2 separate regions of the Homo sapiens genome follow, and region 2 is linked to region 1. The links are contacts of gene promoters, found by promoter capture Hi-C in blood cells and fetal thymus (Javierre and others, 2016). All regions are on one chromosome and are shown on one strand. Each heading gives the region's core, a stretch centred on a gene start or on the middle of the fragment in contact. The rest is flanking DNA. Distances are from core to core; before and after follow the strand shown.

What was found. Contacts are between HindIII fragments. The CHiCAGO score rates a contact against its expected background, and 5 or more counts as called.
Region 2: a fragment that was not itself captured here is called in contact with the fragment with the promoter of WNT5A in region 1 in 2 of 17 cell types (M2 macrophages and M1 macrophages); the score reaches 5.2 in M2 macrophages.

Annotation. Positions count from the first base shown.
Region 1 is chr3:55,485,947-55,488,646 of GRCh38, forward strand. It overlaps WNT5A (Wnt family member 5A), which reads right to left and starts at 1,360. Exons shown (of 5, transcript NM_003392.7): 1 at 1,034-1,360. The coding sequence starts at 1,039. It overlaps WNT5A-AS1 (WNT5A antisense RNA 1), which reads left to right and starts at 1,672. Exons shown (of 2, transcript NR_046656.1): 1 at 1,672-1,933; 2 at 2,044-2,362. The HindIII fragment of the contact is 5,010 bases long and covers 38-2,700 here.
Region 2 is chr3:55,750,826-55,753,544 of GRCh38, forward strand. The region is part of intron 14 of ERC2 (ELKS/RAB6-interacting/CAST family member 2); the gene reads right to left. Among named protein-coding and RNA genes, the nearest start is that of ERC2-IT1, 93 kb to the left of the region's middle. The HindIII fragment of the contact is 4,718 bases long and covers 1-2,719 here.

The sequences.
Region 1 (2,700 bases), core at 110-2,609:
AAATGGGAAAGACCAGAAAAATGGAAATAGGAATCGAAGCTTGGAGGACAGATAAGAAAAATTGTTTAGAAAATAAAAACTTATGTTGCAGGAAGAAACGTTAACTTTTCGTAAAAGTGAACTCTCAGTGACCCTCGGAGTGTGTGATTCGGCTTTAACATACAACTGACAATTAAAACAAACAAGAGTTCGCAAACTGGCCCCCGCCTGCTCTCCCAAAGCGGAGGCCCAAGTGTTTTCTAAAGGACAAGGCGGACTCCGCTCAGGGGGCCGGGGAGCGCTGTCCCGGAGTACGGGATTACAGCCACTACCACCACAACTCCCCGCCCCCACCACTGCTGCAAAGTGCCTGAGCTCACCCAGTGGCGGCTAATAATGCTAATAACGCGACCCCGCTCCCCGCGCCGGGGTGCGCGCTGGCCCCCCGCCAGGCACTCTTAAAGGCAAAGGGGCCTGAAGCGCTCGAGTTACTCGGCCAAGGCAAGCCTACAATCTGGCCTCCGTCGGTGCGGGGGGGTGTCGGGGAAGGTGTACGCCGCTCTGGAGTAGTTGGCCCCTAGTTCCTCTGCGGGTTCTCTCAACCAAGGAGTCCCTTTCCCCATCCCGAGCCCCGGCCACACACCGTCCCGGTGCCCGCGCAGTGGGCGCTTGGTAAATATTTGTTGAATTGAATCATTATCCTGTTACTGAAATATACATAGTAAATTACACTCGATGTTCTCAGAGCAAAAGGAAAGTCGTCAGTGAACCGCACTCAGTTTGTCTACTATCGCTCTTCCCCACTTTTTCTCAAAAATCAAAATTGTTTGCAGAACGGGTGGTGCGACCAGAAGTGATCTCCTGGGACACTGAGGCAGTGCGCCCGGCGTGGAGGGCGAAGGGGTAGGGGTTCCTGCCAGCGACGCTGGAGTTCCAGCTTCTTCAGGCGGTTGGGGAAATGGAGGGATAGGAAGAGGCGAAGGGAACTCAGTTAACTTCCAACAGGGGGTGGGGGGAAGTAAAGAAAAAAAGTGGCAGCGCACTGAACACCTACCTTCATGGCGAGGGGGAGGGGGCGCGGGGAGGAAGTCGCCACCCGAGCGAGCGCAGCCGAGGAATCCGAGCGGAGCGACCGGGTTAAGCCTGGGGGGACGGTCAGGAGCAGGGCTGCGGAGTCCTCCGGCGCGCGTCCGGCGGGCGCAGTGAACCGGAGCTGAAGCGGGCACTGGCGCCCGGGCCTGGACTCCCGAGTTGGGGCAGAGCTGGGATGCGCCCAGGAATGGAGGGGGCGCGGACGCGCGCGAGCCGGCAGCAAGGGCAGGGCCTGGTCGGGGCGCAACTAGGGAGCCGCCGGTCCGGCGAGGGCGCGCAGGCAACTGTTCCACGGAGAGGCGCTCCGTTTCCAACGTCCATCAGCGACGGCGGTAATTAGGGCTTTCCAACCCCAAATGTGGGCGTGATTGTGCAAAAGACCTTACGACAAATAATAATAAAAAGAAATTCTTCACAAGAGGGTGAAAAAAATGTACCACTACTCAACTGTGGCCCGGGGCGGGGGAAGGGGGGCGATCTGTGCGCCCAGGTGCCCCCAGTTCATTCACACCACAGATTCTGCAAACTCTTGGCGGCTCACGCCTCCTGATCTCCAGCTCCTCCTCTCTGGGTCTGTAGCCGAAACGTCTGCTTCCAGACGCTGATCCTGCAGCCGCGAGTTAGTGTGGACGTCTCTGTACACACACAGACACACACCCCAACACACACACCCCCGCTGCAGCTTTGGGGCCACAGAACAATCAGGCGCGCATGGCTTTTTCTCCGGGAGATGCCGCTGAAAACGCACAAGTCGCCATCTGAGCTGCAAGAGTCAGCCCCAAATTGTGTCCTTTCATTTTAGGGTTCGGCAAAAACGGGGAGCAAAATAGGTGAAAGTCGCCCCGGAACTTATTGCTGTGCGGTGAGCTGGAGGGGTGCGACTAACCCAGGGGAGACGCGGGCTCCCCCCCCCCACCACGTATCCCGTTCTTTCTCTCTTCGGGTTGATCTCTCTTTTCCCCGTTTTTCCAGGGCGAAGGGCGAAGAGCAGCGAGTGCACCGCGGGCGCGAGGCTGGGGAAGGGCGAGAGCTCGGAGCTCCGCGGCGGCGACTCAGCTCCGGCGGTCCATGGCCGGCGAAGCTGCCCACCTCCTCGTTTGGCGCCCGGGTCCGAGGGGCGGGAGAGCGGGCCGGCGGGAGGCGGGCGGTCCCGGGCACAACGGCGGCGGCGGAAGGGCTCGCTGGGCAGCTGCCGCACGGACCCCGGCTCTGGGCGGCGGAGGCGGCTCCGTGGAGCTCGCAGCAGATTTCCACGCGATCCTGTGCCCCGCAAACAGACTGACCGACCGCGGGGACGCGTCCCCCCCTCCCACCCCCCAGCCCTTCTGGCCAACTGCCTTACTCTCTCCCTCCCTCTCTCCAGACTCCTCTTTCCCCTGGTGTTCTCAGAAGGAAGAAAAAAAAAAAAAGAAAGAAAGAAAGAAAGAAAAAAGTTCTTTAAAGTTTCAGAACTAGGGGCGGCTGGAAAGAGAGAGGGAAGGGGGGGGAAGAAAGAAAAAACTCAACTTTGCTATGCGCATGCGTGGTGAGGCCGGCCTATGACAAACTCTGCAGGATTTTAAAGCCGTACTACGGGCTGGGGTGCCGGGAGGCGGGGTACACTCTCCTTGTCTCCCCTTCTCTAAGTTC
Region 2 (2,719 bases), core at 64-2,563, 260 kb after region 1:
CGCATGCACACATGAGGATGTAGGAACATTATGTGTAAGTTGTTTTCTGGGGAACAGCAGCTTTTTATTGTGACATTCAGTAATGTCCTTTCTAATGTTTGGAATTAAAATGACCCTTTCTCAAATGATGATGATAATAGTTAACACTTGAATAGTCTTATTTAATAGCTTAATTAGGTTAGCAAGCATATGTTGTTGGCAAAAAATATTTTTTCCTATGATTGGTCCATGACTTCCACGGTCTGGAAAACATTCACGTGATTGCTGCATGTTACTATCAGGGTATGTGTGAGGAACATCCTCTTCTGTTCTGCATAGGTAAGGGCTTTCCTTGTGAAAAGTGTTTGGCACTTCCAAGCTGGCTGCCTTATAAATGCCATGTTGAACCCAAATTGTTTGTACTGAGTGACCGTCCCTTTGCCAATGTCTGTTTCCAATATGGTATCTTTAGGATATAAGTGGAGAATAATCTCTTTATTTCACAAATAGGCCCCATCAGACAAGAGCTCGAGCTCCAGGTCCTTCTAGGGGTCTTCAGTGACCACAGAAGGAAAGAAAAGCTGAGTTGGTCAATGCCAATCTTTAGGAAAATTATTTCTAAAGGTGGCAAGAAGGGCCTAGTGTAAAATATGACATACTCTGCCTCTCTTTCGTTTGTTCATTTTGTTGGATTTTAGCACAATATGTATATATATATTGGTGGAATATGAATGTGGGAGTAATCAGCAACAGAGAAGACTTGGGAACATGGTAGTTATCCCTTCAATTATCTGCTAGAGTAACATAGATGAGGCTTGCTCCAGGGGCACCCTAAGATTTGAACTAGGACTTAAGGATGAAAGTCACAAGTAGGTAAGGCTGAGGCCAAGTTAGTAACAGGAGCAACTCTGGCTAAGTCAGAGCTGTCAGCAATGGCCTGGGCTCCCTCATACCCATCTCTGACAGTGTTGGTACAAACAACAGAAGGCAATGTCGAGAAAATCCCAGGGAAATAATTCTAACAATGGAGGAATGATGTGACTAAACACATGCTTTGGTTGGGTTTATTTGGATTGCAAGCAAAAGAAACTAATTCTGGCTAACTTAGCAAAAAGAGGAAGTGTTAGAGGGATACTTGAATAAACTGAGGAAAAGAAAAGAGCTAACAAGTGAGCTTTAGGAGGGTCAGTGAGAAAGTTGCTCCAGTACCCTCAGTAGCAGGAAATCCTAAACCTTTCTTCAGAAGACCTACTGTTTACAGAATAACTTTGTTACAACCTCCAGGCTTAATGGAAAAAGAGTAATGTTTGACCTTCCTGGAAAGAAAATCTGTTAGCCCCACCTAGGTCAATCAGTTATGGCCTGATTTCCCCATCACTAGAAACACACCCTAAATAATGGGATCACACCAAAAGAAAAAGGGACAGCTATGAGCTGAGGGTCATCCTAATTGGCAGCTCTCTAATGATCTTACAGCTAAGGGGTCTATTTCTATGGTGTGCTGGAGCTGGCTGCTAGCTAGCGAGAGTCAATTATGTGCATCTCCTTCCAACTGACAAGGGTCAGCCTGTACCTTGGCCATGGTAGAAGTATTTACACGATGGAAATTGGCAATCACTACCAATCAGGGATTTTGTTTTTTCTATTGACCTGGTTTACCAGCGCTCTATTGGCCTGTTTCAAGATAATTGAACAGTTTTGCCAAGACTGCTGAACAAGGGACAGGCCATAGAGCCTACAATAGGAAATACATAGCTAACACACACCAGCACATTTTCTGTGCCAAAGACTATACCATTCTAAGTCCTTTATGTGTACTAACTCATTTGAGCTGCACAACAATCTAATGAGGAAGGTGCCATTATGTTCCCATTTGACAGATAAGAAAAGAGAGGCAGAAAGGAGTGAATTAACTTACTCAAGTTTACATGGCTAGTAGATGGCAAAGTAGAGATTCGAACCCGGGTATTTATAATTTTATGTCTCAAAATAAAATAGATTATGTCTAGCATTGTTCTAAGTTGAGATACTCTTGACACAGAAAAAACAGATTCACTTTGAATCAAGTGAGAAGTTGGCTGAATTCCGATAAGAGGACCACCCCCTCAGTCACAATGCTGCCGTCAGTAAGAGCAGCCGACCGCAGCTCTACAACTGGTGCTCGGATGTTTATTTCATTTGATTGTATATTTATTTCATTTCTAGGGATGCCCAAGGACTGAAGCCAAATCACAAAGTTGCTAACCAAGTCCATGGGGAAGAGAGAGACTCACAATGCACACTGCTGGAACTCCCCAAGTGGGTGACAGCAATACTTCAGAACTCGGTGGGCAGAGCAGATCACATGGTTGCTCCTGGATGGGCTGTGATTTCTCAATTCCAGTGAGAAAGGGGAGAGAAGTCTGAACCTTCAACATACTTCCCCCCAATCCCACTGCCAATACTATAAGGCATAGAAAACAGAAAACAGGGGTAACATAGAAAGACAGTCATCCAATTTTATATATGTGCCTTTGACAAGTCACTTGACTTTACGTATCTTAGCTGTGGGAATCTATAAAATAAAAATGATATTACCTACCCCCGAGGTCACTAAGAGGTTCACAGAAGATCCCCCACAGGAAAGCATCTGGAAAACTGCAAAACCCCACAGGAATGGTGGGCATTACTATCAGGGGCATCCCTACTCACAAAGCTGTGGCCCCCTGGGACCCAAATGGTGATGGTGCAATTGGATTCA